Regions from separate parts of the Homo sapiens genome. Here regions 1 and 3 are each linked to region 2. Evidence: promoter capture Hi-C in 16 types of primary human blood cells and fetal thymus (Javierre and others, 2016). All regions are on one chromosome and are shown on one strand. The core of a region is centred on a gene start or on the middle of the fragment in contact, and the rest is flanking DNA. Distances in the headings are between cores, read along the strand shown. Region 1 has its middle 1.7 kb from the start of OR8A1. Region 2 holds the start of OR8B3 (olfactory receptor family 8 subfamily B member 3). Region 3 holds the start of OR8B12 (olfactory receptor family 8 subfamily B member 12).

Region 1 (2,703 bases), core at 142-2,641, 170 kb after region 2:
ATAAAATATATGGTTTGGCCAGGCACAGTGGCTCACACCTGTAGTCTTAGAGCTTTAGAGGACCAAGAGAGGAGAATTGCTTGAGGCCAGGAGTTGGAGACCAGCCTGGGCAACACAGAGAGATCCCATCTGTAGCCAAAATTTTAAAAAGTAGCCCAGCATGGTAGCATACACCTGTAGTCCCAGCTACTCATGAGGCTGAGGTGAGATGCTTGCTTGAGCTTGGGAGTTCAAGGTTACAGTGAGCCATGATCGTACCACTGCATTCAAACCTAAGCAACAGAATGAGACTCTGTCTTTAAAAAAGAGGAAAAACAGGAAAGTAAAAGAAATACGTGGTTTATATTTGCCTCTTTCATGTTATTAGAAGACTATGAGAGTGAAACGTTAAATCAGTGCTGTCTAGCGTTCTCCTACACAATGGTGTTCCCACCTGCTGTGCACTCAGTGAACAGTGTTCATTCCACACTGCTTTGTAAAGCACACGATCTACAGTTATAGTTATTCAAGTTGGGTGTTTCCTTTCATTTTAAGAGGCAGACATTGGGTAAAAAAGGATATGTAAAACTTTTTAAATCTACTGTTGTTATTTAGAAAAAAATTCTTCTTTGTGATAAATGAAAATAATACATTTCTATTTCCATTGTAATAAATGGGAATAACTCCTTATGCACAATGCTTGGGACTAGAAATGTCTTGAATTTCGAATTTTTTTCCGGTTTTAGAATGTTTGTATATACATAATGAGATATCTTGAGGATGAGATCCAAGTCTAAACATGAAATTTATATATGCTTCATATACATCTTATACACATAGGCTGAAGGTAATTTTATACCATATTTTTAATAATTTTGTGCATGAAACAGTTTTGACTGTATTTTCACTGAGACTAGTCACATGAGAGGAGGTGTGGAATTTTCCACTTGTGGTTCATGTTGGCCCTCAACAAGTTTCAGATTTTGGACTTTGAGTTTTCAGATTGGGAATGCTTAACGTGAATTTTAAAAATCTTAGCTACCTCTCATACTAGTTATTGTAAAGTTAAATGCCTCATTACCAATAATTTGATATAAAAGCTTACAATGCAATTCAGACTTTGTCTTCACACCACGTCCTAATGATTTTAAAGACTCTTACTTCTAAGAAAAAAGAATACAGTTAGTGCCAGTTATAGGAATCAAATGAGACAATACATTTGTGAATGCTATGTTTAAAAAGCAGATTACAAATGTTTTTGTAAAAATACATATATATTTATATACATGTAAATACATATATGCATAGGAAAAGTCTAGAAGGATATTCACTACCACCGTTTGGTTCCAAGTGGTGGAAAATGGTTGTTTTAAATTTTTGCTTATTTGCATTTCTAATTCACTACAATGCCTATATATTGCCTTTATAATTTTTTTAAATGCATCCAAAATTAGCAATAGATCTTTCCTCTATCTTCAAAAATTATATAAATTAAATGTTATTAAATAATAATAAAGTGCTACACAAAGATACGCTAAAACAAAACAATTTAGTTTAGTGGAGACAAAACACACTGGTGGTCAGAAGTCCTGGGTTTTAGGCCCAGTTTTGCCTCTTACTAGCTGGGTTTCCTTGGGTGACTTATTTAACTTTTAGAGCTTCAATTTCCTAGACAACGAAACAAAATACAGCATTTTTCCTATGCTATGCATATACTAAGATATCAAGCTTAAACCTATTTTAATCATACATTGCTAAGAGCTGTGAGTGTGCAGATTTACAAGGCTGCACATGTGAGGCAAAAGAGGAAACTCATGATCAGGACAGAGCCGAGGTAAGTTTGAGTTCCAAGTCACCAATAATTAGTAAACCTTGGGCAAATCACTTAGTGTCTGGCACCTCAGTTTTCTCAATACAAACATGAAAATAAAAATCCTTCCCTAAACACATTTCTCCCCATTTCCGAAAACTTCAGAAGTTAATGAGATCGACCTTTGAAAGAAATGTGTAAGCTGTAAAGCATTATGCAAAAGTTAGTAATTACATAAGGAAGCAATTAAAATAGGGGTAATATGTTTTATAGCTTAAGAAATACATCCCACAGATAAGACTGTCTATACATATTGTATCCAGCAATGATTATTCATGCTTCCTGGAGATATGCCTGTAATTTGAATACTTTGTCATCAGGGATGTAATAGGACAAAGGTTTGATATTATGATCTGAAAATAATAATAATAATAATTAGCTATTTAGCACTTAGTATGGAACATTCAATGGGCCAGTGCTCATGTTGCACCACAGATCAATTAAATCAGAACATCTACGGGTAGAACCCAGGTATCAATCCTTTGTAAATGCCCCGTGTGATTATAATGTATAGCCAATGCTGAGAACCACTGCCTTAGGACCTCAGGTCAAGTAAGAAATTAAGAACAAATTCCAGACTCTTAATGACAATTCACATTTTTTATAGGCACTGAGTATTTGAAAAAAGATTTCTAAATATGCATTATCCTGTGTTATTTTTACAACCACCTTTGGAATCAATATTAATTTCTTCATCTTTCAGACATAGAAATTGATGTGTCAGCCAATGACACAGCTTGTAACTACCCTATCACCCTGACACTGCGTAAATTTCAGATAGGTATTTACATGTTCACATTCAGTGAATATTTAGGAATTATATACATGACAAAGGAAGTTTATTTCTAAAGCAA
Region 2 (3,062 bases), core at 535-3,034:
TGACAATGTAGACCACTAGAAACAGGAAAAAGAGGGGTTGCTGGAACTCTGGATGATCTGTTAATCCAGCAAGAATAAATTCAGTCACTAAGGAGTTGTTTCTAGCCAGCATTTTTTGTCTTCAAAAATCTGGGAAGACAAAAGAAAATTCTATTAGGAACACAGATTTCTTTTTACAAAATCTCATTAATGAGGAGGGGACTCAGGCTGTAGGAATTTGGGTGACTTCTTTGTTTCATGGGATCTGAATGTTCTGAATGTACTGCCACTCCCACTCCTCAACATTTCAGTCAGTGTCTTTTGTCTGTACAGACTGAATGTGACAAACAATTGCTCCTGTCCTTACTAGAAGACAGAGAGGTGGAGTAGCTGAGGCACAGGCCTACCTGCTGTTGAGCTTGGGTTATGTGGATGTGTCTCATCTCCCTCGCTTCCATCTGGCCCTTCACTTCCTAGTTTCTTTTTTTTTTTTTTAAGATGGAGTTTCACGCTTGTTGCCCTGGCTGGAGTGCAATGGTGGGATCTCGGCTCACTGCAACCTCTGCCTCCCGGGTTCAAGAGATTCTCCTGTCCAGCCTCCCAGGTAGCTAGGATTACAGGCACATGCCACGATCCCAGCTAATTTTTGTATTTTTAGTAGAGACAGTGTTTCATGATATTGGTCTGGCTGGTCTCAAACTCCTGACCTCAGATGATCCACCTGCCTCAGCCTCCCAAAGTGCTGGAATTACAGGTGTGAACCACCGAGCCTGGCCACTTCCTAGTTTCTACTTATGTTTCCATTATTCTACTAGACACTTCAGTTTCCTTGTGATGACCACCAGGTAAGGGAGGATTCCTTTAGGGCAGAGACCATACCGATATTCTGTTTCCTAGACAGGGGTCTCCTATAGGGTTTCTAGATACCTTACTATAAGAATCCATGAAGTCACCAGGTGATAACAGAAGACCCTTAGTAGTCAAAGCCTTATGATTCACCACATACAAATCACATAAGTGTTTCTACACATTCTCCTCTATTCCATCCTAGCTAGACAGGATGAAGAAAGGAAGCTGAATGTGCTTTCACAGGTCTTTGTAGGAAGGCATAAGAGAAACATAATTAATTTGGGTACAGTTATATTAGTTGTTAAGTTTGTAAAATTTTACCAAACTGGTATTTTTATGACCCTTAAACTCTTCTATATGTATAGCACATGTCAATATATTTTTTAATAAAGAGACAAATATCCTTTCCTGGCATTCCTCTGTTCTGGATGTGTCACTTGGAACTGCTATTGCTATCTTGATACCAGGCTAAGAATGAAGCCAACAGAGAGAACAGTGTGAGAAAAATGCAAGCCCAAGAGTCAGAGCTCCATACCACTAAGTTTCTTGCTATTGAATAGAATACTTTTCCCCATTTTTCAGCAACATCCAGGAGAGAGAAATAGAAACTTGATTAACTCACCTTCCTTCCACTCAGAGAACTCAGTGCTGACCATTGATATGTGTTTCACCTCCACTGCCCTGGAGGAAGAAATGGCTGTGAAGGTATCTATGTTGATCAGATGTAGTCACAGAATCTTCTTCTCCCTTGACTGGCAAAAGCATTGAGCAGAGATCTCAGAATCTGAATGTTCTGGGAATCATTTTGTGGTGTAGATCAAACTATTATTTATAAATTTGCCAAGAGGGTTTGTTGGAAAACTGCACTTCAAACCAGAGCTACCATGTCATAGAGCACATGGCATTTGCTCAAGGCTTACAATTCTTTTGGACCTGATTACATATCCCCCAGTAAGTCTCTCTCAGGACCTCCCCTACCATGACAAACTCTGCAGGGAAGAAATTGTATGCCCTTGTTTACAGCCTAATTTGTTGTAGTAGAGGTAAATTTCTCATCAGGGATTATACAATCCACAGGGCATAGGAGAAAGAGCATCTGCTCTCATGTATAAAGATGTAAATGTAATGATTGTCAGAATTTTTGCTAATTATAATCCTAGGTAGTATATTAGCTTTAACAGGAATGTAAGTATAATTTAGTGAAGTTTATATGCTCATTTTTAATATTGTGAGTCCTTTTAAATAATCTTTCAAATAATCCATTTTTACTTTTGCATACTTCATAGGCATAAAGAAAAGGGATACTTTTAATTGATTTCAGATTTTTTAATAAAAATTTTGTGTAACATAGAATTATCCTTTATTTCATAAAAATGTATTTACCTTGGGTTGCTCTAACTCAACATGTCTTTGTCTTTCATGTTAAAATCAAATCCGTAAGAAAAATCACTATTCATGGGCCGTTATTTCAAGACAGTGTGACTTTAGAATTTCTCTGTAGGTAGGAATTTGTGCTTGTGAGAAGGCATCTATTTTTTTACCTTTTTATTTTAAAATTACTAGAATCACAAGAAGTGGCAAAAGTCATACGTAGATTCCCTTGAACTCTTCACCCAGTTTCCTCACATGGCGATGTCTTCCACGACTATAGGACAATAGCAAAACCAGGAAATTGACATAGGTTCAATAATGTTAACGAAACTACAGACCTTATTCACTAGTTTAACATGCTCGTATGTATGTGTGTGCAAATCTATGCAATTCTATCCCATGTACATATTTATGTAACCACCACCTAAGTCAGGATACAGAATTCTCTTTTTTTTTTTTTTTGAGACTGTGTCCTGCTTTGCTGCAATCACAGCTTACTGCAGCCTCAACCTCCCAGGTTCAATAGATCTTCCCACCTCAGCCTCCCAAGTAGCTGGGACTACAGGCACATGCCACCACCATTGGATAATTTTTGTATTTTTTATAGAGACAGGATTTCATCATATTGCCCAGGCTGGTCTTGAACTCCTGGGATCAAGTAATCCACCTGCCTTGGCCTCCCAAAGTGGTGGGACTACAGGAGTGAGTCACCATACCCAGCCAAAAATATCCATCTTAAAAGAGATGTATAAACTTTTGTTTTCTTATTTTTTATTAGTAATTATTATATGTATTTATGGGATACAATGTGGTGTTTTGATAAATGTATACATCATGAAATTATTAAATTAAGATCATTAACA
Region 3 (3,107 bases), core at 451-2,950, 140 kb after region 2:
AACCCTTGAAAAAGCTCTACATTCTGATTCTTTAAGTTTTCAAATGAATGTATGATTTCTACTCAGCATCTTTATAACCCTTAATCCTATGGAAGTCCTAATTCCCTAGACTGGGTTCCTAGGGTTCCACACAACCTCAATCTTAACTCAATGTCAGTCACATTCTACAAACTTGACACAATTCTCTTCTCATTTGGTGAAGACCAACTTAAGAAAATGTTTCATCTTCTATCCTCTTGAAAAAAAATGAAATATTTAAAAATTATTTATTGAGAGGTCACATTAAATTACTATGAATAGAATTAGGTTTTAATGTGTTAAGTTTTCTTACTTTTAAAAGGATATCTGCAAGGGCAGCAATGAAGCATGAAAAAATGACATAAAGAAAAAAAAAGCAGCCTGGAATTCAAGGACCTGGATTCCATTCCCAGTTGTGGCACCAAGTAGTTGTGTGTCCTTGAGCAACATATGTATTTCTGAGTCTCCAACACATGTTAATTGAAGAGACTAGATTAAATAATGTGTAAGGCCAATTCACGATTAAATGGTCTATGATTATAGAAAAATTTGCATAAAATGAAGAAATCCTGGAATAACTAGGTGAAGCAGAGACAGGGAGAATATGTCTGCACTTAACACTCATCCAAATGTAAAGATTTAAAATTCTTTTTCTGTACAAGACAGGAAAAAAATGGAACTTGAATCTCACTGAAAACACACACTAATAAGCAAAGCATTGTATCTCCTTCCTCCAATACTAATCCTTTCTTAAGAAAAGATTTTTCTGCCCAAAGTTCTCCTCAGGGCAACTTTGACATCCTTGTTCCTCAAGCTATAGATTAATGGGTTTAACACGGGGACTATTATGGTATAGAACAGGGAGGACACTTTCCCTTGCTCGAGGGGCAGGATGGAAAGGGGTTTGAGATACATGAAAGCACCAGAACCAAAGAAAAGAGAAACTACAATTATGTGGGAACTGCAAGTACTAAAGGCTTTGGACCTGCCTTCTGTAGAACTGTTGTGTAGAATGCTGGAGAGGATGAGGGCATAAGAAATAAAGACAGTGACAATGGGCATTCCAACGTCAACAGCCACCACAATAAAGACCACCAGCTCATTCATGTAAGAGCTGTTGCAGGAGAGCTCAAGGAGAGGAAGGATGTCACACATGAAATGATTGACAAGGTTGTCAGCACAGAAGGTCAGGTTCATTATGCTTCCTGTGTGGGCCATGGCCCCAGCAAACCCCATCCCATAGGCACCCAACAAAAGGAGCAAACACACCTGGCAAGACATGGTGACTGTGTACAACAGTGGGTTACAGATGGCCACGTAGCGGTCATACGCCATCGCTGACAGGATGAAGGACTCAGAGACGACAAAGAAGCAGAAGAAGAAGAGCTGAGTCATACACCCTGTGAAGGAAATGATGTTCTTCCTTGAGACAAAACTCATCAGCATTTTGGGAGTGATGGTAGTGGAGAAACAGAAATCTATTAAAGAGAGGTTAAAAAGGAAGAAGTACATGGGAGTGTGCAGGTGAGAGTTCAGCCCAATCAGGGTTATCAAGCCCAGGTTCCCCACCACGGTGACCGTGTAGAAACCCAGAAACAGGAAGAAGAGGGGGATCCGCAGTCCCGGCTGGTGGGTTAAGCCTTCGAGGATAAACTCTGTCACAGAAGAGTTTTTGGCTGCCATTCTTTTTGGTCAGGCAGGAGAGTCGGAGGGGACAAGAGAAGAGGACCACTTAGAAAGAAACATCACCACCACATTCTTAGTCTCTATCTCCCATTCTTAGAAAAGGAATCCAAGGAGAGAGATTTGAACTTTGGTAGGAAGGTTTTTACCACTCACTGTGGGTCTATCTTCACAGTCCGAGTGATTATAACTCCCAAAGTGTAATATGAGACTCAACTGTAACTGCAGAATGAGAGCTGGATCTGCTGAAGAAAGGGGTACCAAAAATAATCCAAATGTCTTTTAGATCCTTAGGTCAGTCCCTTTTCTATATCTTTCCCTCTCCTGTCTCTGCTTCACTTGGTAAAACCTGGACCTCTTCCCTGAAGGGAATCCTGAGATGCAGAAGCCACAGTGGCTCTGCTCAGAGCTTCCACCTCTGGGTCCACACTGTCAGATTAAGTAGGTGAGCTCATGCTTTTCCAAGATCTCTTAGCTCAAGTGGCTGTACATTTAATAATTTTTTAAAGCTGACACTTATTGAGTGGTTACTATAAGAGGTTCTGTTTGAAGAGCCATGTAGCAATATTATTATCTTCATTTTACAGATGAAACAAGTAAGATGACATAACTAGACAAAAGTCCCCAAACCACCTGCAGCCAGAAGGTGAATTTCGGCAGTATGGCTCAAATGGCTTGCACTTGAAATCACCATGTTACATAAGTGACCAGCATCGGGGCAGGCACTCACCTTCCTTCCCTTTAGAGCCATAAATGCTATACTCTACTGCCTCTTTTTCACATTCTGGGGAGGAAGATGACCCTAGTGAAGACAAGATGACAGATCTGAGCTCAAAGCCCTCTCTTCCCAGTACAGGTCAAAGGATCAGAACCTCTAATGTATCTCATAACACTTCCTGCACTGAAGGACATGACTTCCAATTGTTCATTTGCCCAAAGGCCTCTCCAGCTTCCAGGAAGGAGACAAAGCTTTTTCCTGACCAGTGAATAACAAAAGACTAAAGAGTTTTATTCTGGATTACAGACCTCAATGATCTGGCCATTAAGATAGAGACTCCCTCAAGACCACTTGCTTAGCAATTAGTTTCCCTAGAGAAGAAGAAATGTTTGTTTATCTCTTGGAATTGCTTGATTTGGCTTTCTACTAACATGTATCCTGTACTATTAAGAGAAAATCATTGTGAAAAAAATGATTGTCATTACCATTTCTTGAATACCCAATAATTTAGTACCTGACATAGTACCCTTATTCCAGCTGCCAAGATCCAGAGTACACATATACAAACATATCTTTATTTATTTCTCACAATACCTATTTTACAGGTAAGTTGCTCACAGAGACAAGATGTTTCAGAGTCCACAGGTATGCTTAGGTCTGTCTGACTCCAAGCCCCTTATGTAGCTGC

What was found. The method cuts DNA at HindIII sites, captures the fragments that hold promoters and counts their contacts. A CHiCAGO score of 5 or more calls a contact.
Region 1: a fragment that was not itself captured here is called in contact with the fragment with the promoter of OR8B3 in region 2 in 4 of 17 cell types (M2 macrophages, M0 macrophages, M1 macrophages and 1 more); the score reaches 5.8 in M2 macrophages.
Region 3: the fragment with the promoter of OR8B12 here is called in contact with the fragment with the promoter of OR8B3 in region 2 in 2 of 17 cell types (M1 macrophages and M2 macrophages); the score reaches 5.4 in M1 macrophages.

Annotation. Positions count from the first base shown.
Region 1 is chr11:124,566,907-124,569,609 of GRCh38, forward strand. No RefSeq gene overlaps it. Among named protein-coding and RNA genes, the nearest start is that of OR8A1, 1.7 kb to the right of the region's middle. The HindIII fragment of the contact is 628 bases long and covers 1,078-1,705 here.
Region 2 is chr11:124,397,240-124,400,301 of GRCh38, forward strand. OR8B3 (olfactory receptor family 8 subfamily B member 3) reads right to left here and starts at 1,785. Exons shown (of 2, transcript NM_001005467.2): 1 at 1,451-1,785; 2 at 1-129. The coding sequence starts at 112. It also overlaps a transcript of OR8B2 not described here. The HindIII fragment of the contact is 12,656 bases long and covers 1-3,062 here.
Region 3 is chr11:124,541,954-124,545,060 of GRCh38, forward strand. It overlaps OR8B12 (olfactory receptor family 8 subfamily B member 12), which reads right to left and starts at 1,701. Exons shown (of 1, transcript NM_001005195.1): 1 at 769-1,701. The coding sequence starts at 1,701. The coding sequence ends at 769. The HindIII fragment of the contact is 5,500 bases long and covers 1-2,668 here.